Linked DNA regions of Homo sapiens: regions 1, 2 and 4 are each linked to region 3. Evidence: promoter capture Hi-C in 16 types of primary human blood cells and fetal thymus (Javierre and others, 2016). All regions are on one chromosome and are shown on one strand. The core of a region is centred on a gene start or on the middle of the fragment in contact, and the rest is flanking DNA. Distances in the headings are between cores, read along the strand shown.

The links. The method cuts DNA at HindIII sites, captures the fragments that hold promoters and counts their contacts. A CHiCAGO score of 5 or more calls a contact.
Region 1: a contact is called between a fragment that was not itself captured here and the fragment with the promoter of POLI in region 3, in 2 of 17 cell types (monocytes and neutrophils). The highest score is 7.1, in monocytes.
Region 2: a fragment that was not itself captured here is called in contact with the fragment with the promoter of POLI in region 3 in 1 of 17 cell types (monocytes); the score reaches 6.3 in monocytes.
Region 4: a fragment that was not itself captured here is called in contact with the fragment with the promoter of POLI in region 3 in 5 of 17 cell types (monocytes, activated CD4 T cells, neutrophils and 2 more); the score reaches 6.7 in monocytes.

Annotation. Positions count from the first base shown.
Region 1 is chr18:54,348,219-54,354,681 of GRCh38, reverse strand. STARD6 (StAR related lipid transfer domain containing 6) reads left to right here. Exons shown (of 8, transcript NM_139171.2): 3 at 105-198; 4 at 579-628. The coding sequence starts at 109. Among named protein-coding and RNA genes, the nearest start is that of STARD6, 6.4 kb to the left of the region's middle. The HindIII fragment of the contact is 6,439 bases long and covers 1,936-6,463 here.
Region 2 is chr18:54,157,042-54,163,561 of GRCh38, reverse strand. It overlaps MBD2 (methyl-CpG binding domain protein 2), which reads left to right. Exons shown (of 7, transcript NM_003927.5): 6 at 3,659-3,797. The coding sequence ends at 3,785. Among named protein-coding and RNA genes, the nearest start is that of SNORA37, 62 kb to the left of the region's middle. The HindIII fragment of the contact is 4,102 bases long and covers 1,453-5,554 here.
Region 3 is chr18:54,266,894-54,273,360 of GRCh38, reverse strand. POLI (DNA polymerase iota) reads right to left here and starts at 3,844. Exons shown (of 10, transcript NM_007195.3): 1 at 3,700-3,844; 2 at 1,876-2,001. The coding sequence starts at 3,814. It overlaps LOC124904307 (a long non-coding RNA gene), which reads left to right and starts at 3,456. Exons shown (of 2, transcript XR_007066379.1): 1 at 3,456-3,535. RefSeq lists enhancers at 3,363-3,412, 3,943-4,072, 4,333-4,482 and a silencer at 3,483-3,732. The HindIII fragment of the contact is 5,901 bases long and covers 810-6,467 here.
Region 4 is chr18:54,173,993-54,180,814 of GRCh38, reverse strand. All of the region lies in intron 3 of MBD2 (methyl-CpG binding domain protein 2), which reads left to right. Among named protein-coding and RNA genes, the nearest start is that of SNORA37, 45 kb to the left of the region's middle. The HindIII fragment of the contact is 1,941 bases long and covers 1,429-3,369 here.

The DNA.
Region 1 (6,463 bases), core at 3,906-6,405, 80 kb before region 3:
CTATGTGACAGGCATTATAGAAATAATATTAAAATGTAAGATAGCACTTTTTAAGTTTTTATATGGTTATATTCTTACCAGTTGTTTGTTTTTAAAACTTGCAGATAGATGGACTTCAAGGCAATTGCCCAACAAACTGCCCAAGAAGTTTTAGGTTATAATCGAGATACATCAGGCTGGAAAGTGGTTAAAACTTCAGTAAGAAAATAAGTTAAATTATGTTTCAAGACTTTGTTTTTAAGTAAGAAACAATTCATTGTAAAGACTTTTTTAAAAAAATATTTTCTGTTCCAGGTGCAGTGGTGTGCACCTATAGTCCCAGCTACTCAGGAGGCTAACACAGGAGGACTGCTTGAGCACAGGAGTTTGAGGCTGTCATGCACCATGATTGTGCCTGTGAATAGCCAGTACACTACAGACTGGGCAACATAGTGAGACCCTGTCTCTGAAAAATATATATATATATTTTTTTCTTTTACAAACCAGAAAAAAAAGTGTTTTTACTTTTGTTAGTTTTTCATTTTCATTTTTCCTGCATTTGACAGCTAATTATTTGTGGATTTTTATTCCCCTTTGAGAAAAAGATAACTGTTTCCAGTAAGGCTTCTAGAAAATTCCATGGAAATCTGTGAGTACAATCTTCTATTTACAATTACTGTTTTAAATTCAATGCCATTGATGTATCTGGAATTTCAGTGCTGCTTCATTAGCTATAATAAATTATTTTATAGTAATAAATAGAAATTATTAAGTCACTAGGCAGAAATGTGATAATAATAAAATACAGCAATCAGATACCATCTAATCTTCTATTTTCAAATCTGATGACAATCAGATAAAAAATCTCTTCTAATTACTAATTCACTAAATAGGAAATTTTCACTTCAAGAAATAATTACTATAAAAGCAGATTGGTATTTTCTTGCTAACAGTAATATTTTATGGAATTTTAAACCCTTCATGTGTCCATTAAATGAACCACTAACAAGTAAAGTGTATTTCTTCATTTTATTTTATTTTCTTGAGACAGGGTCTTGCTCTGTCACCAGGCTGGAGTGCAGTGGCACAATCTCAGCTCACTGCAACCTGTGCCTTCTGGGCTCAAGCAGTCCTTCCGCCTCGGCCTCCTGAATAACTGGGACTACAGGTGCACACCACCACACCTGACTAATTTTTATATGTTTTTGTAGAGATGGGGTTGCCCAGGCCAGTCTCAAACTCCTGAGCCCAAGCGATCTGCCTGTCTTGGCTTCCCAAAGTGCTGGGATTACAGGTGTGAGCCACTGTGCCCAGCCTACTTCCTCATTTTAAATATGCATTTTTTTCTGTATGCTTCTTTTAAATATACTTTTAAGGATAAAATTATTTCAAATACAAGTACACTAAGGGAAAGTATATTGACTTTTTTTAGCTTAATCTTTCAGAGTTCATTTATTGCTCATGATAGTACATCAGGGCCATCAGATCATCAAATTTTATTCAATTCCTTTTCTTTTGGAGTCCACTCCTTCTTTCAACTACCTCATTTTATGTTTCTTGCTTTTTTAAAATTTCAATAAAATTTACCTATATTATATTTCAGCCCAATTTTTTACCATTGGACAAAGCTGATATGCTTTCTCCCACTCACTTTAACAATGATCAGGAAAATAATCCCTACCTTATTGAAATAATGGTTCTAATACAGGCACTTTCAAAAATAAACAGGGAGGAGTGGGTATGGTCAAGCCTAGGTACACTAGGGGAATTAACTTTTGGATAATTTGGCTTTTTGGTATCTTACAGATCAGACCAGTGTAGACAGCAACCTTGGCATTTTTTAAAAGCTTGGAAGTTATTTATTTAGTCTACAAGTAATTATTGAGTATTTATTTAGAGAGTGCTATACAAATGCCTAGAGCCAAAGAATAGGTTCTGTTAAGCTGTTCTAAAGCTTTACTGGAAATTTTCATCAGAGATATTTTACTCTTACATGCAAAACTAAACAATTGGTACTTTTTGCACTCACAGTTTGAGTGAAATTTATATGCACTGTATACTAGGTATTTATTGGTGCACAACAAATTATCCCATAACTTAGCTACTTAAACATTTATTATCTTATGGCTTCTCTGGATTAGGAATCCAGGAACAGCTTTGCTAGGTGCCTCTGCCTCAAGGAATCCACAAGGCTGTAATCAAGGTGTCAACAGGGCTTAGGTCTCATCTGAAGACTCAACTGAAGGAGGCTATGCTCCAAACTCACTCACATTGTTGTTGGCAAGATTCTCAAGTAGCTGGGACCACAGGCTAGTTCTTTGAAAAGAAAAAAATGGCAGACCATTAGTAAGATTAACCAAGAAAAGGAGAGAAGATCCAAATAAACTCAATTAGCAATGAAATGGGAGATATTACAGCCAATACCACAGAAATACAAAAAGATCATTCAGGGCTACTGTGAACACGTTTACATGCACAAGCTAGAAAATCTAGAGGAGATCGATAAATTCTGGGAAAAAATACAACCCTCCTAGATTAAATCAGGAAGAAATAGAAAATCTGAAAAAAAAAAACAAAAACAAGTAGCAAGATTGAAACAATAATTTTTTAAATTGCCAACAAAAAAGTCCAGAACGAGATGGATTCACAGCTGAATTTTATCAGACATTCAAAGAAAATTGGTATGATCTTACTGAAACTATTCCAAAAGATAGAGAAAGAAGGAATCCTCCATTCTATGAGGCCAGTATCACCCTAATAACAAAACCAGTAAAGGACATTAAAAAAAAAAAAAAAAAAAAAACGGACCAATATCCCTGATTAACACAAATGCAAAAATCCTCAACAAAATACTAGCTAACCTAATCCAACAGTATATCAAAAAGATAATATATACCATGATCAAATGCATTTCATACCCAGGATGTGGGGATGGTTTAACATACCCAAGTCAATAAATGTGATAGATCACATAACCAAAATTAAAAACAAAAATTTTGATCATCTCAATAGATGCAGAAAAAGCACTGGACAAAATCCAGCATCTCTTTTTGACTAAAACCCTCAACAAAATAGGCATAGAAGGAACTTACCTCAAAGAAGTAAAAGCCATCTATAACAAACCCACAGCCAACATTATGCTGAACAGGGAAAAGTTGAAAGCATTCCTCCTAAAAACTGGAACGGGAAAAGGATGCCCATTTTCACCACTTCTATTCAACATAGTACTGGAAGTCCTAGCCAGAGCAATCATGCAGATGGGTAAAGAGGAAGACAGACTGTCACTGTTGATCAGTGATATGATTGTATACCTATAAAACCCTAATGACTCATCCAAAAAGTTCCTAGATCTGATAAGTGAATAAAGTTTCAGGATAAAGTCAGTGTACACAAATCAGTAGCACTGCTATGCAGCAACAGTGACCAAGCTGAGAATGAAATAAAGAATTCAACCCCTTTTTCAACCACTGCAAAAAAAGAAATACTTAAGAATATATCTAAGCAAGATGGTGAGAGATCTCTACAAGGGAAACTGCAAAACACTGCTGAAAGAAATCACTGACACAAACAAATGGAAACACATCCCATGCTCATGGATGAGTAGAATCAGTATTGTGAAAATGACCCTACTGCCAAAACAATCTACAGATTCAATGCAATTCCCATCAAACTCCCATCATCCTTCTTCACAGAACTAGAAAAAACAATCCTAAAATTCGTATGGAACCAAAAAACAGTCCACATAGCCAAAGCAAAACTAAGCAAAAAGAATAAATCTGGAGGCACCACATTACCCAACTTCAAACTATTCTACAAGGCTCTAGTTACCAAACACCATGGGACTAGTATAAAAACAGGCACGTAGATCAATGGAACAGAATAGAGAACCCAGAAATAAAGCCAAATACCCACAGCCAACTGATCCACAACAAAGTAAACAAAAACATAAAGTGGGGAAAGGACACCCTATTCAACAAATGGTGCTGGGATAATTGGCAAGCTACATGTAGAAGAATGAAACTGGATCTTCATCTCTTACCTTTTACAAAAATGTACTCAAGATGGATCAAAGACTTAAATCTAAGACCTGAAACCATAAAAACTCTAGAAAATAACATTGGGAAAACTCTTCTAGACATTGGCTTAGGCAAAGAGTTCATGACGAAGAACTCAAAAGCAAATGCAACAAAACCAAAAATAAATAGTTGGGACCTAATTAAACTAAAAGCCTTCTGCATCGTAAAAGAAATAATCGGCAGAGGAAACAGGTAACCCACAGAATGGGAGAAAATATTCACAAACTATGCATGCAGCAAAGGACTAATACCCAGAATCTATAAGAACTCAAGCAAATCAGTAAGAAAAAAACAAATAATCCCATCAAAAAGTAGGCAAAGGACATGCGTAGACAATTCTCAAAAGAAGATATACAAATGGCCAACAAACATGAAAAAATGCTCAACATCACTAATTATCAAGGGAGTGAAAATTAAAACCAGAGTGAGATACCATCTTACCCCTGCAAGAATGGCCATAATTTAAAAATCAAAAAATAATACATTTTGGCATGGATGTGGTGAAAAGGGAACACTTTTACACTGTTGGTGGGAAGGTAAATCAGTACAACCACTATGGAAAACAGCATGGAGATTCCTTAAAGAACTAAGAGTAGAACTGCAATTTGATCCAGCAACCCCACTACTGGGTATGTATCCAGAGGAAAAGAAGTCATTATATGAAAAAGACACATGCACACACATGCTTATAGGAGCACAATTTGCAATTGCAATTATATGGAACCAATGAGTGGATAAAGAAAATGTGGTATATATAAACTATGGAACACTACTCAGTTATAAAAAGCAACAAAATAATAGCATTCACAGCAACCTGAATGGAGTTGGAGACCATTATTCTAAGTGAAGTAACTCAGGAATGGAAAACCAAACATCATCTTTTCTCACCTATAAATGAAAGCTAAGCTATGAGAACACAAAGGCATAAGAATGATATAATGGACTTTGTGGACTCCAGGGAAAGGGTGGGAGGAGGAGGATGGATAAAAGACTACACATTGGGTACAGTGTACACTGCTCAGGTGATGGGTGCACCAAAATCTCAAGAAATTACCACCACAGAATTTATCCATGTAGCCAAAAACCACCTGTTTCCCCAAAACCTATTGAAATAAGTCCAAACATTTTATCGTGATGTGCAGGTAACTATCTGGGCCCCACTTACCTCTCTGACCTCATTTCTGACCACTTCTCTTCATTGTCCCTGTGTCACAGCCACAATGGACTTCTGTTGTTTGAATGCACTGAACTTAAACCCATCTCAGAGCCTTCTTAGTTGCTCTCCTCTTGCCTGGCAAGCTATTCCCCCAAATGTTTCCAAGGCTAATGTCATTTTTATGTTCAAGATGTCAGTTTCATTATCTCCTCTTCAGAATGACCTTCCTAGCCACGTGGCCAAAGTTCCCAAATACACACACTAAACCTCTATTTACTACATTGTTCTGCTATTATCTTCTTCATAGCACTTCACTATATGAAATTTATCTTCTTTGTTTTCTTACGTATTATATGTCTCTCATATTAGAATATAAACTTGATGAGGATACTAACTTTAATAGGCACCAGACTAGAAATAAATCACTGCATTCATTGCAGTATCCCTAGCACAAGAACAGTGTCTCTCACCAAGACACTTAATAAATATTGAATGAATTTATGGACTTCAGTTATATTATATTGGCTACCAAATGGGAAGTTATATATCTTATAACTGCAGTACAAAAAAATAAACTCAAGATAATTTTTCAACACTTATGCCTTTTCTTAATAATTTGCTACTCAAAAAGGGCCTTTTGTGGTTAGCTTTAAGCATTTGCCTGGAAGAGAAGCAGTTCTTTGGTTGGAATTTCGTTCCTTTCTGCTCTTAAGGGATGAAATACAGACCTACCAGCACATAGGTCTACACATTTCTCTCAGTGTTAGAAGCAGTGAACAGTAATGTCCTACTATATGTCAGGCACCATGCTAAATACTTTTCTTTCATTTTCTAAATATATTTCTCATATTTCCCACAATGTAAGCACTGTTATTATCCCCATTTTACAAATGAATAAGGGCCTATGTAAGTTACTATCTCCAAGTCACCTAACTAGTGTTAGTGAGACAAAAACTTAGACACCAAGACTTTACCTCAAAGGCTGTACTTTCTTAATCATTATTCTCTCTGACCTCATCAAAACTGTCAAGATGTATCTGTGGAATAATGAAGGCAGATTATCCAGAGATGGATTCTGGCAGAATGTACCTTTTCTGCCTTTAGGCATTTCATGCTTGTTTAGGATACTACTTTCTCCTCCATTGTCGTTACTACTTATTACCACCATCATTACCACCACTACATTTAATCCTCTATTCTACCTTCTGAGGCAGACATGTGAGACAGTTTGTAAGTTTTATAAATTAAAGCA
Region 2 (6,520 bases), core at 2,254-4,753, 110 kb after region 3:
CATTGCACAGGAAAAGCAAAAGTACTCCAGTTAGTAAGATCACAGAGCAATTCTTATGTGGGTTTTATGACCTCAATATCATTATTTTATAGTGATACTGTACTATATTGCATTTATATTATATTATAGTATATTAAAAATATGACCTTGTGTATACTTCACTATTTCTGTCCCCTGAATGTAAATCAGTTTAATTTGAGTATTATTCCTAGACAAAATCAGCAGATGACACTTTCGAATCATATAATTTTAAGATGTTTTATATTTGTTCTTTTGTTTGTTTGTTTTTTGAGACAGAGTTTTGCTCTGTTGCCCAGGCTGGAGTGGAGTGGCACAAACTCAGCTCACTGCAACCTCTGCCTCCCGGGTTCAAGCAATTCTCCTGCCTCAGCCGCCCGAGTAGCTGGGACTACAGGCGAGCGCCACTATACCCAGCTAATTTTTTTATTTTTAGTAGAGACAGGGTTTCACCATATTGGCCAGGCTGGTCTTGAACTCCTGACATCATGATCCGCCTGCCTCAGCCTTCCAAAGTGCTGGGATACAGGTGTTACAGGTGTGAGCCACCACGCCCAGCCTATATTTGTATTTTTTAAAAAAATCCATACAAAGTTGACATGAAAGTTTTTTTAAATGGGTAAGTCTAGCTAGGTTTATAATGGGAAAGCCCTTCTTGGGTCTTAAAGTAATTATTTTGCAAAGATAAAAAGTGGTGCAAAGTTGTATTCATATGCCTTGATTGCATATGAATATGAATGAAGTTTCTTAAAAACTTTATTTTTTAAGAAAACAAAATGTAAAATCAATGAAAGGAATCAACTTGCTCATTGGATTGTTCTTACCCTTGAGGAAGAAAATTACTCCAGAGACAAGTTCTTTTCCATCTTGGGATGAATGCTGAATTAATCAGCAGGGATTCTGCCAGGTCCTTATATGTGTTGACGGAGGTTCTCTGAGTTATATCACAGGAATGTTGGTGGCTTCAACACCAGTTCTTTTGATAGTTGAGGAAACTATCTCAAAGCCAATTCTGGATGATTTCCTTTTTGGGTAAATTTGTCTAACAAATTGCTCATTTGATTTAATTGTCATGACGGAAATTAGGAAGAAAATACTCCTTGTTGAATTAGTACATGTTCAAAATAAATTACTGCAAATGGAACTGTTACTCTTTACCTAATTGGGTATCCAATAGTCTGTCTACATTAAACCTCCAGCTGAAGACCCCAACAAGATATATCTCAAGTATTTTTAGCGTATTTTATAATGTTTGCATTGATGAGTACTTTCGTTTTTTAATACTTTGTAACAAATTCTCACAAACTTTGCAGCTTAAAACAATACCCATTTATTAGCTTAAAGTTCTGTGGGGTCAGAAGTCTGGGCCTGGTATGACTGGCTTCTGTGTTTGGGTCTTAAAAGTGTCACCGGACTGTGTTCCCTTCTGAAGCTTGGGGTTCTCTTTCAAGCTCATATGGTGGTTGCAGAATTCATGCCTTGTGTTTTAGGGCTAAGGCCCCTGTTCTCTTCTTGGCTATGGGATGGTGGCTGTCTTAGCTCCTGGAAGCTGCCTGTAGTTCCTTGTCTCGTGGCTCCTCCGTGTGCCCCTTTATGCTTCTGTCAGGAAGATCCCAGCTCCACTAAGGGGTCCTATTAGGTCAGGCCCACTACAATAATCTCTCTCGATTGACTCAAAATCAGTTGATTGGTAACCTAATCATGGAGAGATATCCCATCATATTCACAAGTTCTGCTCACCCTTAAGAGGAGAGAATTATATAAAGAGTGCACGTAAGGGTGGTTTTGGGGAAGAGGGACTGTTGGGGACCATCTTACAATTCTGCCTACAGCAATGGGCAAATGATTAAATTTCAGCTCTCACAAATGTGGAAAGTAATGCTCAAGAGAGAAGAAAATCAATGGCAAATGTTAGAGTTTAAGATAAAATTCTCCATCCAAATTACTGCATATGGTGCCATTTGCTCCATTTTCTCCTTCTTCCTAATGAGGTTACTCTAGGACAGCTGTGAAGATTCTTGTACTCTTATTAGTGAGAGACTGCCAGTGAAACCAATATGTCATTTGTCATAAACTTTGAGTCACTGACCCAGAGGTGAGACTAACTGTATAAGAAATAAACAAATGTGTTCTGCTTGACCCTGCCCCATGACATGAAAATCTGTCAAATTCCAGTTTCTTTTAATATGACAGAGGCTATAGAGCTAAGACTGACCCAGTGACAGCTTCCCTCTTTTTGAAAATTCATTTAATAAGTGGAAGTCTATACCTTTTAACTCTTTGTGGTGTTTTGGAGTTTAATAAAGATATCCAAAGTTTTTGTGGGAAGCAGTACATATATGTTACCTTGACTACCTTGGACATAGTCTTATTTGGTCAAAGGGGTGTGATCTTGAGTAGACTGAATATAACTTGGCAGCTGGTTGAGCCCCTATGGAGTGAATACTCAGGGACCCTTAGGGCAATCTTCTATAGCATTGCTCCTCTACCTCTCTGCTGTCCCAGTTTTGGGAATTGCTGCAATCTGTCTTCCTCGGTTATTGGTAGAGAAAATTACTTTTTTTTTTTCAGTAGAACCCTTTGTATATTCCTTGTTGCATCTTCATCTCCCTGTCTGCATCTTTCCTTATCTCCTTTCTTCTGGTCTCAAGAGCTTTGCCCCCTTTTCTGTTCTGCTGACCCTCCCTCCTCTGCCATTGCCTTCTGTTCTTGTTCCCACTGGAATCTTTTCCTACCAGTCTTCTCTCTTCTCTTGTCTTTCTTCAACCTTTGCTTCTCTACTTGGTTCTGGATGTCAATTTCTATTTACCGAGCTTTGTTTGCTAGACACGTATTAGGAATTTATCTCTTACCATCTGGGGGATCTACTTTCTTTTCTTTTTTTTTTTTTTTTACTTTTTAAAGGTAAGTGTATACTGATAGCCTTTCTTCCTGTGCTCTAATGGTTCAGAGCCTTTTTAATGACTTGGAGTTATTAACCCTCACTTTTGAGGTTCCTTTGTAATCACCGAGACACAGAGAAACTCATGGCATGTTCTTAAGTAACTCACTTTCTTATTTGAAGAGAGGCTTTTCAGTGTCTGTCCTCGGTGTGCAGGATCATGTAGTCTTGGCTCCTTCATGCTGACCTGTTGCCTGCAGACCTCAGAATCCAGGAGAGAGCTCTCTCCTAACTAACCTAGCCGCAGAATGTCAATCAAACCCCAGCTTATCACGCCTCTGCTTCCTCCATCTTTCTCAGTGCTTCTATGAACAAGTCACTTTTCCTTTGTTATTTATGTTCCCTCCATCTTTTATTCCTGCTTCTAAGTTATTTCTAATTGTCCTTATAGGAATAAACCCAAATCTTGACACAGTTGACATTTTCAAAGTTGAAGAAAAGGTCACTGACGTCAATCTGCTCTTTCTAGAATTTCATGTGTGATGAGGGATAACTGCCTCTGTGAACATTCCTCTTTTTGGCAAGGCTCATTGGTGAGGTTTGATTTGTGTGTAGAAGCAACCTCTGCAAAAATCTGAAAAGGAAGTCTATTCTTCTTAGGAATTTAATTATTTTGAAGTAAGGATGAACTTCTGTAGCAGATTCATATTGTCATTACTTGCCAAATTCTCAGTGCCTTTTTATTCTGTTTTTAAAAAGGAAACAGGAAGAGCGAGTACAGCAAGTACGCAAGAAATTGGAAGAAGCACTGATGGCAGACATCTTGTCGCGAGCTGCTGATACAGAAGAGATGGATATTGAAATGGACAGTGGAGATGAAGCCTAAGAATATGATCAGGTAAACTGACACCAGAGAGAGTGACTTGGAACTTAAGGTGTGTTTTCTTGGCCGGACATAGTGCTTCTGCCTGTAATCCCAGCACTTGGGTGGCTGAGGCGGGCGATCAGTTGAGCTCAGTAGTTCGAGACCAGCTTGAGCAACATGGCAAAACCCCATCTCTACCCAAAATACAAAAAATTAACTGGGTGTGGTGTTGTGTGTGTGTGGTTCCAGCTACTCAGGAGGCTGAGGTGGGAGGATCACTCGAGCCTGGGAGGCAGAAATTTCAGTGAGCCAAAATTGTGCTACTGTTCTCCAACCTGGGTGACAGAGTGAAACCCCATCTCAGAAAAAAAAAAAAAGGTGTCGCTGTATTTTCTTGTTATTTTCCCTGTAGCTTCCTCAGCAGTGAATGAAAAAGCTACTCCTCTGCTCGGGTTCTGCATGTGCTGTTGTTTGTTTCTTCTCTCTGGATTGAAGGACCATATAAGTTATTGCATTCTTTTGTTCTCATACTGGGAGGACATTCACACCCCTGCAGTCACTTGCAAGGGATCTAGTCTCCTTCATTAAGACCAGGTGGAAAGCCTCTAAGGTGTCACTAGAGAAGAGCAGCAGCAGAAGAAAAGGACTTTGTCATGTAGGGAGGAACGGCCCCAGAAGAAGAAGGTGACTGTCATCTCCATCACAGTAGCATCCAGGGCATATTGCTTCCTCTTTAAAATTATGGTGGCAAAGCAGGCAAAATCTCTTTCTTTTTCTTAGATTCTCCCTAGCACAGATTTGATGCAGGGAGAACAAGAAGGACACTAAAAAGTATAATAAATACTTTACCTTAAAAAATACACATTTTTAGGCTGGGTTTGGTGGCTCATGCCTGTAATCTCAGCGCTTTGGCATGCCAAGGCAGGCGGATCACTTGAGGTCAGGAGTTTGAGACTAGCTTGGCCAACATGGTGAAACCTTGTCTCTACTAAAAATATAAAAATTAGCTGGGCGTGGTAGAATAGCTGGAATTTTGTAATTCTAGCTACTCGGGAGGCTGAGACATGAGAATTGCTTGAACCCGGGAGGCAGAGGTTGCAGTGAGCCGAGATTGTGCCACTACACTCCAGCCTGGGATGGAGTAAGACTCTGACTCAAAAAACAGCAACAAAAATGCACATTTTGATCTTATCTCAAACTCACATTCCAGGCTCATGGCTCTGTGCCATGGGCATACCTTGTCTTCAGAGGAGCACGTGCAGATCTTAAGGCTTTCTGTGACGTCTTGCTTCCCGGCTTCCATCCTGCTTTGTTTCAGCAGGCCATGTCTTCCTTTTTGGCACCCCAAAACCAATTATTTACTAGTTTCCTTTGAAGCCAAAACAGAGGGAGGGATGGGGTGCTAATATGATGTCAAGGGTCAACAGAGCCTCTCTGAGAAAGTGACATTTATGTTGAGCCTGAAAGATATATAGGAGTGAGCCAGGAGAGGTTTGGGTAAAAGTGTTCCCATTAGAAGGAACAGCAAGGAGAAACTTGGTTTCTTTAAGGAATGAAGAAATTATCCACGTGGTTGGAATGCAGTATGTCTGGGGAGGGGTGGGGGGAATGTGTGGGTGGTGAACCTAGTCACGTAGGACCTGTGGGTTGTTAGGGAGATTGATGACCACTTGAGATTGATCATGAAAATTAGCAGGAATCACTGAAGAGTCAGTAGCATGATCAGATTTGCTTCTTTACAAGAGCCCTATGGCTGCTGCATGAATACAAGGATTGGAGTAGGGAAAGCTTGGAAGCAAGGAGACCAGTTGGGATGTTGCTGCGGTAGTCTCGCAAGAGATGATGGTGGCTTTAGGAGGATGTTGACATGCCAATAGGTTGGGAGAAGAAGAGATGGGTAGATCTGAGATATAGCTGGAGAAAGAATCACGTGACCAGGTGACTGCCTGGAAGTGCGGGTGAGAGAGTGGCGAGGATGCCTCAGGGTTTTCACTTGAGCCATCACTTGAGCTGGGTGGGAGGGAACTCTGTTTGGTAGGGGAACAGGCTAAGGGTAGGGATTGCAGGGAGGGTGAGTTGAATTGTTAACACAATTATCCCCTTCCATAGTGCCTTTATCTTTCATGCCACAGCAAGACCAAAATCCAATAATACATATAATGTCTTACATTTACATGTCCATCCATGGCAGCACTCACTTCTGGGTCACAGTTTCCTGACCATACAGAATCATTTCAGGCTGGGTGTGGTGGCTCACGCCTATAATCCCAGCACTTTGGGAGGCTGAGGTGGATGGATGTCCTGAGGTCAGGAGTTTGAGACCAGCCTGGCCAACATGACGAAACCCTGTCTCTACTAAAAATACAAAAATTAGCTGGGCATGGTGGCGGGCACCTGTAATCCCAACTACTTGAGAGGCTGAGGCAGGAGAATCGCTTGAACCTGGGAGGCGGAGGTTGCAGTGAGCCGAGATCGCGCCACTGCACTACAGCCTGGGTGATAGAGTGAGACTCTGTCTCAAAAAAAAAAAAAAATCATTTCAATCCAGTTCAGTGCTGTTTTAGCTCTTTTCTCTTCCCTTATTGAAGACATGAAGATGCTGTGTTGATACTTGGATTTTGTTTTCCAAGCTGGCAAGGATGTATTTATGGGCTTTGATGAGTATACTTAATATGCTGGAAGTCTTTCAGAGGGAAGTCTGAAGTGTGTTTCTACTGTCCACGGCTGCAGCCACACCGTCTCTGGAGCACAGAGGG
Region 3 (6,467 bases), core at 2,595-5,094:
AATACTGGTTGCTGCTAGAAAAACTCAACTTCTCTTCTCCGTAACTTGCTAATATAAAGCAATATAAAATATAATATGTATATAAAATATATAAAACAAGTGCTGGGCTACAGCAATTTTTAGGGATCTAACAGTTATGTACTACTTATTGAACTGTTCTATCAAAAATGATTAAATTATGATCATTTATTTACAGACTGCATAAAAAATTCTAGTTTATTGGTGACTCAAGATTGCTAAAAATTATTTGCTCTTTTTTTATACAAGTTGACTACTTGCTTACCACTGTAAGAGTAATGTTCACCTAAAATATGTAAAATACAAACATGTAGAAAAAAAAGGTTATGTCCACTTCTCTATTAGACATTGTTTCTAAAATTTTGATATCATAAACAACATTATTTTTATATAAAGTTTTTTCATATATCAGGTAATGCCCAAAAATATAATCATGGAACCAAAGGTAATAATAATTTGAGATTCCTCAGTGAACTACATAAAAAATCAGATTGCTAGATTTCTTAACTAAAAAAAGGAGTCCTTTAATAGAGCATTACATTATATGGCCTCATCACTGCATGTCACTACTGGTCGGGCACGGTGGCTCACGTCTGTAGTCCCCGCACTTTGGGAGGCCAAGGCAGGTGGATCGCCTGAATTCAAGCATACGAGACCACCCAGGGCAACATGGTGAAACCGTCTCTACTAAAAATACAAAAAAATTAACCGAGTATGGTGGCGCACACCTCTAGTCCCAGCTACTTGGAAGGCTGAGGCAGGAGAATCACCTGAGCCCCAGAGGCAAAGCTTGCAGTAAGCCAAGATCGCACCACTGCACTGCAGCTTGGGCTACAGAGTGAGACCCCTTCTCAACAACAACAACAAAAACAAAATGAAAGACTACTTTCGTTTTCCCCCAAAAACATGGAGCATTCATATCCCTCACTTCCCAATAATCATTCATTCGTACTTAATTACAGTTTTTTTATTAAGCATTATCTACAGAACATCTTATAACACAGTGCTACTACTCAGAAATGCCTTCAGGAGAAAAAACTTAGGTCCCCTGATTCTAACTCCTTGGCACCCTTAGAAAAGTTTTAAGATCCTAGACTCACCTTGGCGTAGCAAAAACTAGTCATCCCTTTGTTCTTCAGTAAATCAGCTAGGCTGGATTGGGATTTATTAAGCCAAAGTGGGCACAAGAGGGTAGCAGCAAGTGAACCAAAAATGTTCTTTATGCTTACACTAAAAGAGGAATCTTTCCTGCATGCATGAAAGAAAATCTCTTTATCTTTCTCAATTTAAAATATGAATAATAAAAATGATAAAACAAGCTAGCATATCAACAAATATCCAATATAAAATTTATTTTGGCTTTTATTTAAAAAGATGCTTATGTTTTTACGGCAAGTTTGCTGTCTTAATAATACTTAGGTTTATGTTCAAAATCCAACTAGTTAGTTAGATGTTACACAATTTAAGAGATAATTTCAGAAAGGGGAGGACAGACGAACACTTCCACTAAAATGTAATAAGAGGCTGTTTTTGAGAACAAAGCCTGTAAAATTTCAAATAGTGAGAAAAAGAAATCTGACCAGCAAACTAAGCTACTAACCAGCACAGAAAAGTAACATTTATTCTGCTTTCTCTTCATTTGTTCTGCCGACTACACTATTCTCAGATTCACCACTTATTAAATGAGGCTTGTAAAATTTACACTTGGTAGTGAAGCAAAAATGACCAGCTATAAAGCACTGTAAGAACTGCTTCCAAAATCTTTCTTAATAAGGTTAATAAATCAGTATATAATGAGCATGATGAGTTGCTAATCTAATCATTATGCAATTAAAAATATTATAAATCTACAGTTACCTAAAGGTTTGTCTTTTAGCTCTGGATTTGAGATCATTTCTACTTGTGCATAAAAGCAATCCAGATCCACATGTACTATGACTCTGGATGAAGCATTTGGTGTGGGCAACACTTGATCATGAACTCCTGCACAATATGCAAAGAAATAAAAAGAAATTCAGGCTGCTTATTATCTCTGAGCAACTGACAGTTCCTTAAAACATGGTACCTGTGAAGGAAGAATGCAGAGTGACGTGTTTTCTCCTGGATTATGTGTGAAAGCATCGAAAAATTACAAAGACATGAAACTCCACTTAGGGTAGGGTCTTCAGTCCTCTTAATTACTGTTTGTGCACTGCGTTTTTCTCAGGATAGTAATAAGTTTGAAGGGAAAAAATGTGATAAATAATGGATGATGAAAGAGCTAATACTATCACCTGGAAGTTTATAGTAGCTCTTAGTGTAAACCAGAAGGGGCAGAAAAGTTGAAATGACGTTGATTTTCACACAGCTTGAAAATTATTCTAAGCAGCATGCCCTTACATTTAAAACAAACAAACCAACAAAAACTGAAATACAAAATGGCAAAAGACAACCAGTGGGTACAAGTGTGGGCTATTTTTAGCTCCCATGGCAGCAGGATTATCTGGTTTAATGCTAAATCGCCAGTGCCTAAAACAGTGTCTAGGACATAACAGACCACCAATAAATATTCACTAAATTGAAAGACTGAATAGTTCTTTGATTTTAAAAAGTTGTTAGGTCATTATTTGTCGGGGAGGGAATGACAGAGGCGACTCCTTCTCTCAACACTGGCTAAAAACAAGACAGGCAAAATACAATACAATATTCTGGTTGGGATCCTGGAACAGAAAATGAACGTTAGCAGAAAAACTGGTAGAATATTAATAAAGCGTGTAGTTCAATTAATAGTATTATACCAATGTTAATTTCCTAGTTTTGACAAATGTACTGAGTTTATGTTAACACTAGGGGGATCTAGCTCTGCAACTTTCAGGTAAACCTAAAGTTCCAAAATTTAAAAGGCCAGGCACGATGGCTAACTACTGTAATCCCAATACTTTTCGAAGCTGAGGTGGAAGGATCGCTTGTGGCTGGAGTTTGAGACCAGCCTGGACAACACAGCTACACCTGATCTAAAAAAATCTGAAAATCAGCCAGGTGTGGTGGCACGTGCCTGCTGTCCCAGCTACTCGGGACGGAGAGGCTGGGGCGGAGGATCACTTGAGCCCAGGGGTTCGAGGCTGCAGGGAGACCTTGTCTCTAAATTAATGAATGAAACAAAACCAGCAGGAAATGAGAACCGGTGCCTTTACATCCAGGCCCTGAGGTGGGCGGTACAAGGTAAAGACCAGAGCTGGAAGTGGGTCACCGGAGACGTGACCACAGCGGACCTGACTCCGCCTAGGTTCTGAGCCATCCCTTCCTGCCAGGACTGAGATCCGGGTCCCACCTTCTGCCAAATGAGCGACAAGGTCCTCAACTTCTCCAAAGTTAAAAGGCCCAGAAGCCTCTGCAGTTTTCGTCGGGCTGGCTGAGGGATTCCCGCCCCACCTCGCCCCTCACAGAGGAAAGGACGGCGCAGATAAACCCTCGACACGTATTTGTAGTGTGGACGCGCCCCACCCTACTCCTGCTGGGTGAAGCCATTCCTCTAGAGGTACCCGCCGCGTAACACAAGGCAGAGGGAGGCAGCCCTCTCTTAGAGGAGCCGAGTGGGGCGGGGACGGTCGCGCCCCAGTGGCCGCCGCCCCGAGCGTCCGCCTGCCCCACCCTTCTCATTTACACCCAAGGAGGCCGCTGGCTCCTCTGGCTGCGGCGCACCCTGCGAGCTGGCTGCCGCCCCCACGTCCGCCAGTTCCATGGCCCAGGCCTCGGCGTCTTCCTCGTCGTCGTCGCCGCCGCCTTCCTCCTCCGGCTCCACCCCCAGCTTCTCCATCCCGCCGCTGCCAACCGCAGCGCTACTTCCGGCCGCTTCCGCCTGGTCTCCAGGGAAACCGGGGGACTACAGTCTCCAGTCGCTCTGTGCCTCTCGCCTGCGCAGTCGTGGCCGACCAGCCTGTTGCCCAGAGTGACACGCATGCCAAGGAATCGTGGAGGCCCACGTGCGGGAGTTTTTTCCCGCCGGGTGGAGGCCGGAAGCGGAGAGATTGAAAGCACAAATGGCTATTTTTTTTTTTTTTGAGACGGAGTTTCGTTCTTGTTGCTCAGGCTGGAGTGGGCAACAGTGACGCAATACCGGCTCACTGCAACCTCTGCCTCCCGGATTCAAGCGATTCTCCTGCCTCAGCCTCCCAAGTAGCTGGGATTAACAGGCATGCGCCATCACGCCCAGCTAATTTTTTTGTATTTAGTAGAGACGAGGTTTCACCATGTTGGTCAGGCTGGTTTCGAACTCCTGTCCTCAGGTGATCCACCCTCCTAGGCCTCCCAAAGTGTTGAGATCACAGGCATGAGCCACTGCGCCTGGCCTTTTTTTTTTTTTCTTGAAGGCTTTGGAGTTAGGCCCACATCACAAATTTTAGCGTTTTGTCTTTGTTCCATTCGGCTGTTAGCAAACTTGCAAATCCCTAGACCTGAGTGATTAATGTGATGGGGTGGGAAGGAGTGTAACTGATAGTAAAGACACAGGTGGCCTTGTAAACTCATATGATTAGCAACTATGTTAAGGTTTGCTGTGTTTTGTTTGTTGTTGTTTTATTTAAAGACACTGTGACGAATTCAACCACAGAATTTTTAACATCAAAACTGAATAGGATTTGATACATGAGTGTTGTAGTCAGACAAAATCTCCAATCCAGACCCTCCATCATGCTGTGTGACTTTGGGCAGGTTACATAACTGCTGTGAGCCTCAGTTGCTCTACTCTTAAAAAAAAAAAAAAGTATTGAGATTGAATGAATGGATAAAAGCTACCATATACTGTAATATCCTAATGTATATAAAACATGTGGCACATAGGAAGTGCTCAGTAAATGTCTATTCTCCTTGCCTTCTATTAGGATACCATGTGTGCATGTGTGTGTTGGTGTGTGTATGTGTATGTTTTACAATAGAGGAAATTTGGAAATTCCTCCATGCCTGTATGTATGTATATACACTATATCTGTATAAATACCCAAATTAACACATATGTTTGGTTTTTTATATGATTCTACTTCTTATCAAATAAAATATTAGAACCTTGAGAAACCCTTTAAAGCAGCCATTCCCAACCTTTTTGGCACCAGGGGCTGGTTTCATGGAAGACAATTTTTCCACAGACAGAAGGGAGGGGGATGGTTTTGGGATGATCCAAGTGCGTTACATTTGTTGTGCACTTTATTTCTATTATTATTACATTTTAATAGATAATGAGGTAGAATCAGTGGGAGCCCTGAGCGTGTTTTCCTGCAACTAGACTGTCCCATCTGGGGTGATGGGAGATAGTGATAGATCATCAGGCATTAGATTCTCATAAGAAGCATGCAACCTAGATCCCTCGCATGCGAGTTCACAGTAGCGTTCAGGCTCCTGTGAGAATCTAATGCCGCTGCTGATCTGACAAGAAGCAGTGCTCAGGCAGTCATGCCAGTAGTGGAGAGTGGCTGTGAATACAGATGAAGCTGCACTCCCGGGCCCGCTACTCACCTCCTGCTATGCGGCATGGTTCTTAACAGGCCAGGGACTGGTTCTGGTCCATGGCCTGGGGACTGGGGACCCCTGCTTTAAAGGATATGTTGATGCATCCATGAAGAAAAGGGAATAACAAGCAGAGCTGGGTCTCAGTGGTTTGGAAACAAAATCTTCCTCTTTGCATATTTAATTCTTAGATGTCTGGACCAGTTCTTTCAAAGTCTGCTATCTAGGTTATAAATTACCTGTTCAGAGAGCTAGGCTGCTATCTTTGTGAAAGCTGTTTGATAAGTCTAGATAGTTGTTTGGTGGTTTTTCATTTTATTTAGTTATTTATTTATTTATTTTGAGACAGAGTCTCAGTCTGTCTCCCAGGTTGGAGTGCAGTGGTGCGATCTGGGCTCACTGCAACCTCTGCCTCCTGGGTTCAAACAATTCTCCTGCCTCAGCCACCTGAGTAGCTGTGATTACAGGCGTGTGCCACCATACCCAGCTAATTTTTGTATTTTCAGTAGAGACAGGGTTTCACCATGTTGGCCAGGCTGGTTTCCAACTCCTGACCTCAAGTGATCCGCCCGCCTTGGCCTCCCAAAGTGTTAGGACTACAGGCATGAGCCACCGCGACCCAGCCTACATAGAGAGCTTTTGAATTGAGTGTCTCTTTGTCCACTAAGTGCTTCTTGGACAACATTCAGTGGTCTGATTACTAATAGACAACCAAAGTTTGTTTTTCTTTTCATTCTTCCAGATAGAAAATGATATAAACACTAAAATACTATGGCAGATGAAAACGGTCTCTCTAGAAGAGCCCTAGGCTCACTAACATTCAACATGTTGCTTAAGTGAGACAGTGTTAAAAAACAATGCACGTAATCAAGCCCTCTTTAGTTAGTTGCATTTATTTCCCCATCCGTTGTTTAATTTGAAGAGTGGCTTTTAATTTCGTGAAAGGATAGAAAAGTAGACCCTTGGAAATC
Region 4 (6,822 bases), core at 1,150-3,649, 91 kb after region 3:
ACTGTCATGAGGGAGGATCTGTGAACTTTTTTTATTTCTCTAAGTAACATAGGAATACAGATGAAAAAATCGAATAGTGTTTTTAAAAACTACTTCTCAAAACAGTAGTTTACTACTCCAGTTAAGTCTTCTAGTCTCTGCCAGAAACATTTATTCTTAATTCTTATCATATCTCTTTATAATTATCTTCATATTTCTAATTAATATACTTGTTAGGCTGTCTTTGTTAATTTTAGCCATTATTTCTTTACTTTCCCCAAGGATAGGTGACTACATAGTTCTCTCTCTCTGCCGTCATGCTCCCAACCTAGATGTATCACAATTTTAGGTAAATAGGTTAAATAGTCAGGGTTTACGTTATTATGAATGGAAATTTTTCTGGGTAGGGTAAGTAATGCCCTGCCACTCCTTTCTGTCATAATTCTTTGTTGTTTTTAATCTTAATAACTCTATGTTAGGTTTTCTAATATAATTATAGTTAACCTTTTCTGATTTTAAAATTTCTGCCACATGCTCATCAAAAATATTTTCTTTATGCTGCTAGGATGTAAATCTGTGGGGAGAATTAATATTTTTATAATATTAAGTGTTACAGTCCACGAATCTTAGGTATTCCTCCAGTAAGCTTTTATAGTTTTCAGTCTAGTGATCTTATATATCTTTAATTGATTCTTAGATATTTGAGGTTACTGTAAATGGTGTCATTTATAAAATTTTTATTTTCTAATTATCTTTTGCTAATATTAGAAATGAATTGATTTTGTGTATTGACTCTGATTTCAGTTATCCTTCTAAATTATTAAGTCACCTATGATTCTTTTGGACTTTACATGTGAATAAACATGTCATCTGTCAATGAGAGTTTTTCTTTCTTTCCTTCTTTCTTTCTTAACAATATTTAAACCTTTGATTTTTTTGTCCTTTTTCTATTTTATTAGTTAGAACTTCCAATACAATGTTGAATAGAATTGATGGTAACAGATATTCTAGTCTCATTCGTGATGTCAGGGAACATTTTTAATGTTTCTCCATTAAATGTGATACTTGCTCTAGGCTTTTTTGTAAATATTCTTTGTCAGATTAAGGAAATTTGCTTCTCTTTCTGTTTTACTAAGAATATTTCTTATGAATGGATATTAAATTCTATCAATTATTTTCCTCTACCTAGTTAAGTGATCAAATAATGTTTATTTATTCTGTTAATAAAGTGTATCATATTGATTGGTTTATGTGATTAATTTCACTGTTTGATGTTTTTGAATGTTAAACAGATCTAGAATTCCTGGAGTAAGCCCAATGTGGTTGTAATGTATTATCATTGTTATCACTGTTTAGAGTTGCTGTTATTAGGTTTAGGATGTTTTGCCTTTATATTCATGATTGAAATTGACTTGTACTTTTCTTTTCTTGTAATTTGCTTCTCAAGCTTTAGTATCAAGGTTTTCTGGCTTTATAAAATGAGCTTGGAGGTGATCCTTCTTATAGTCTCTGGAAGAGTTTCTATAAAATTGGCATTTTTAAAAAACAAAATTTTCTTTTTGGAATAATTAATTGGGAGGTCATCTCAGCCTATTTTTTTTATGGAAAAGTTTTAACTTACAGATTCATTTTTTTTCTTTGTTTTTGAGACAAGGTCTCGCTGTATCGCTCAGGCTGGAGTGTAATGGTGTGATCACAGCTCACTGCAGCCTTGCCCTCCTGGGCTCAAGTGAGCCTCACACCTCAGCCTCTAGAGTAGCTGGGACTACAGGTGCACACCACCACGCCTGGCTAGTTTTTAAAAATTTTGTTACTTTTTGTAGGGATGGGGTCTCACTATGTTGCTCAGGCTTCAATTTTTAAAATAGATACATGGAAGAATATTCATTTTTTCTTTCTAGTTTTTTTCATGTGATTTTCTAGGAATTTGTGCATTTTATAATTTTCAAAGTTAGTGGCAAAAGATTGTTTATATATTTCTAGTAATATTTTTAATGTTTACAGTATCTATTGTGATATTCTTTTCTCTGATATTGGTAGTATCCAAATGAAAAGTGGAATGAGGTATTGGGGAGACCTTTCCTAACAAGTTTTGAACTCAGTCTGTATATGAGCTTTTCCTCATTGAAATTCAAATCCAATTCTATCAAATTTCTTTTTATAAGAAAACATTTCTTTTATAGAAGTTATTTCTTTATAATGGATTATGCCTTGTCTTATTTGACACTGTTGCCTTGAAGTAATCTTATAGTACTATTGGGATCTTTGTTTTTTTTTATGCCTGTATTTGTTTGCTATTTCTTTGCACTTTCTTTTTATTTCCAGCTTTCTGAGTCTCTTTATTTTTAAATCTGTCTCTTGCATAAACATACAGTTGAGTTTTTAAATTTGTTTTAAAATATGATCTGAAGGTCTTTTTCATAATTGGTGAGATTACCCTTACATTTATTGTTTTACAGATATGTTTAGTCCTAATTCTGTCACTGTGTTTATATACTGTTTTTAATATTTTGTGATTATTTTTTGGTATTTCTGTTTTTGTTCTGTGGTCTGGGTTTTTCATTTAAATTTATACTTCTGGTAATTTTGAGGATTTATAACCTGATTTTAATTCTAGTGGTTGATTAATGTCATATTCTAAATAGTGCATATGTACTTCTATTTCTCGATGTATTGGTATTAAAAAGGAAGAACGGCTGGGCATGGTGGCTTATGCCTGTAATCCAAGCACTTTGGGAGGCTGAGATGGGAGGACTGCTTGAGGCCATGAGTTTGAGAGCAGCCTGCCAAGAAAGTGAGACTCCATCTCTACAGGAAATTTTTTAAGAAACTAGCTGGCGCAGTGGTGTGGGCCTGTAGTTCCAGTTACTCGGGTGGCTGAGGCAGGAGGATTCCTTGAGCCCCGGAGTTGCAGGTTGCAGCGAGCTATGATCATACCCACTGCATCCCTGACTCCTGCTTGGGCAACAGAGTGATACTCTGTCTCAAAAAAAAAAAAAAAAAAAAAAGAGAGGAAAAAAAAAATAGTGCCTGTTAGTGTCCTACAGAAAGAATAGGAATTAATTTAGTGGCTCACGCCTGTAATCCCAGCATCTTGGGAGGCTGAGGCGGGCGGATAACGAGTCAGGAGATTGAGATCATCCTGGCTAACACAGTGAAACCCCCGTCCCTACTAAAATTACAAAAAATTAGCCGGGCGTGGTGGCGGGCGCCTGTAGTCCCAGCTACTCCGGAGGCCGAGGCAGGAGAATGGCGTGAACGCGGGAGGCGGAGCTTGCAGTGAGCCGAGATCGCGCCACTGCACTCCAGCCAGGGCGACAGAGCGAGACTCCGTCTCGAAAAAAAAAAAAGGAATTAATTTACACTACCGAGATTAGTTTCAAGAAAGCTTTTCTTAAGCGCACATCTTCTTATAAAGAACTAATGATAGATCCTTATCTATTAGAGATCAAAGTTCCTGCAGTCGAGTGGGTTTTGAAATCATCAGTTTATTCATTTCACAGCAGATATTGCTGATTAACAGGTGCTATATAAACAAAAAAGTCGAACATGCCCCCATCTTCATAAAACTTTGAATCTGAAAATCAACACTGAGCAAATAATTCCAAGTATACTGACATGTGACAAATATGTGAAAAGTAGTGAAGGAGCACATCTAAGTTCCTATATGAACTTGCGTATCAATAAGAAAATGATTGTAGCTTTTTCTGTGGGAGGAGCACATGAAAAATCTAGGCACCACGAATGATACTCTTATTCCATGGTCATCTTAGGATAATTGTACCTTTTCAGGCACTTGACAAGTATTGTATACCCACTGTGTGTAAGTTAGAGAGTATTCATGGCAAAATTTAGTCAAACAACTACAGCAAACGCTTACTGCACCTCTGTCTTCATCAGCCCTAAAATTTGCCCTTTGGTTTATTCATCTATCCTGTTTAGCCCAAATTATCTTTTGCCTTAACGAGAGATCACATTGTAGTTTGCACAGCCACACGAAGTAACCTTCTCCTTGGTTTATGCAATAATTTTCTTGTCATTATCTAGCTCTTTCTTCTTAGGCCACCCTGACAAAATAAGAGGGTAGCTCATACTTGATCTTTGATGTTTGCAGGCCATGGTATTTAAGTTGTTTTTGCTGACCATAACTAGACAATTCAGATACTATATGGGGCTGATTGGAAATAAAGCAGTTTAGAAACTGGACAGTGAATTTCTTCTTGGCAGGAAACACCATTCATCCACGTAGCCCTAACCCAGTGTCTTGTATATTTAGCCTTTTGAGAGTGACTAGAAAGTACACACTTTCTGGATTTTGCTTTAATCGACAATTATGTGACAAGAGTCTCTATTATGTGATTAGATTTAGTAACTGTCTTATGAAAGTAAGATATTCATTCAATTGATGGAATCCTAACATTAGAAAAAAATTCTGAGCAATTTGATAAAAGATTTGTATTCTCAAAGAACTTTCTCATATTTTATTAGTGTTTTGATAACCTGAGATAGATCTGACAGTTACTAAGACTTCTAGTTTACTAGTGAAAATATATGCAAAGAGTTTAAGTACTTTGCCCAAGCAAATCTATTTAGTGTTTGAGCCAGGATTAAAGCATTTAGCTGCCAAACCAGCGCTTTCTATCACCCTGTCCTCCCTCTACTTAGCCAAATATTCATCCCACAAACATCTGAGTGCGAATTTTGTGTCTAGCATCATGCTCTTGACAGATGTAGATTGCAGATAAAACTCTAAAAATGGTGAGATTTTTAAGGTAACTTTTGCTTCTTCTGTTTTATAAGGCATTAACACTGTTGTCCTCATATACTTTAAAAAGTATATCACATATCTTACGCATTTAAATTTTTTTCATTAGAAAAAAGAAAAGAAATGCTTGTAGTCTAAATCTTTGACAATTAATGTTAGACATTTTAATTTGTTGCTGAATAGTTGTAAAGAATACAGAAACATACAGAGAACCATCACAAAATGTCTTCAGTCCCCTGACGGCAGGCGAATGTATCAGTGAAGTAGGACAGGGGAGGCTTGAGCTAGGAATTGGATTTGGTAATTAGGTGACTGTGACCTTGGGCAAGGTCAGTGTTCATATAAATAAGAGGGGCAGAGCCTGGGTTAGAAGGAAAAGAATGAATAGAATGTGAGGAAATAAGACACAAGTTCTCTCTACTAGTGGGAGGGGAAGATAAAGATGGCTTGAGGGGGAAGCAGTGTGAATAAGGACATGTTTTAAGTTGTCAGTGTTCAAGTGCATCTGTCACTTAAAAGAAGAAGTCCCAGGGGAGGAGGGGAAAAATGGAAAATGTGAGAAGAGAAGTTGGGCAAATTGATGGGGCAAGATGAGGAGGAGGTAGAAGATGTGATCAGGAGCACAGGTGGTGGGATAACCTTAGGAGGGCAGCAGGATTCTTATTTCTCTAAAATAGGAGGAGATCTGAGGTGGAAAGGACGATGTTCATAGAGGCTCTAGACCTTCAGGCTTCACGCCTGGCTTTTCTAGTCAGTCTGAAGTTGCTCTGTAGGCTTCTTGGCTTGGGGGTTAATATTCAGCTATGGTGTCTAAAATAAACAATAAAAAACAGGAGTTTGGATATGTAGGAATTTTAGATGAACTTCCCTTAGTTTCATTATTGAAGTTCAGCATGTTCCTCTGGTCAGTTCACTTTGTTCTAATAGAGATTATAATTTCAAAAGGGAAGATGCTTTTTAAGACAATACATGAGAGCTAAAATAAGTTTTAGGTTTTTGTGTGGCTCAGTTTGGTGAATTTTCTCCAGTTTTCATGTAAGAATAAGCCAGACCTACTGATAGCTACCTGCTAATTTATGGAAATTAACATGTTCCAAATAAACCTGTCTGTTCTATTTTGCTGCTGTACCTACATTTGAACACTTAAAGTCATTCTAAATGGAGCCGTGCCTTTCTCAGTAGTCAGTGACAGATTCACACATGTGTGGGAACCCCGATCCTGTGGTAAATAAGAGAGCCCCTTCTAAAATCTAAAATCTCTCTGTACAGACACTTTCTAGTTTATAGGTTGTGATATAAAATTTCATGTTTCATTTATTTGGAACTCTACATCTTCCAATAGAAATGATATTATAAATGGCTCTAGTGTCCCAGACCGACCCATAAAATACCATTTAACCTAAAGTATATCTGAATTGTTAAAAATAATTACAACCACATTTCTAGCAGCAAATACATTGACTATCAACTTTCTGAGGTAAGAAATGTTTCTCCCAGTTGTGCTTTATCTTACTTTCCAGAATGACTGGATTCTCCACCACTCCTAGTTGTCTGGCAGTAAAAAAAAAGAGGCACCCACCTCCAAGCCATTTAGATTGGTTCTTCTAAGGCCCATGAATGAGGAGCTGGGAGAGACACTACTGAGAACTGAGAGAGGAGCTTGCAGTGATGGTGCATGCTGGCAGGGGCCCTTCTTTCTGTTTCTGCTGTGAGATCTGGGCACCTGCCTTTATAAACCTCCTATTTCCCTATCCTTTTTCTCTTTCTCTGGACCAGTGGTTCTCAACTAGACATGATTTTGCTTCCTCCATTTCCTCTTACTGCCTCACTTCCCACCTACCTGGGTACATTTGGTATATCCAGAGATATTTTTCGGTTGTCACAACTAGGGTGTTTCTACTGACATCTTGTGGGTGTATAAACCAAGCAAGCTGATAATCATCTACCCCCAAATGTCAAGAATGCCAAGACTGAGAAATTCTGCTCCAGACAGTTGCTACTGGTTAAGGTTGTTTTTGCCTTTTTTGATTCATTGCAGCATAGAAATATAGTCTGTGTTCCCTGATTCTCTCCCACCT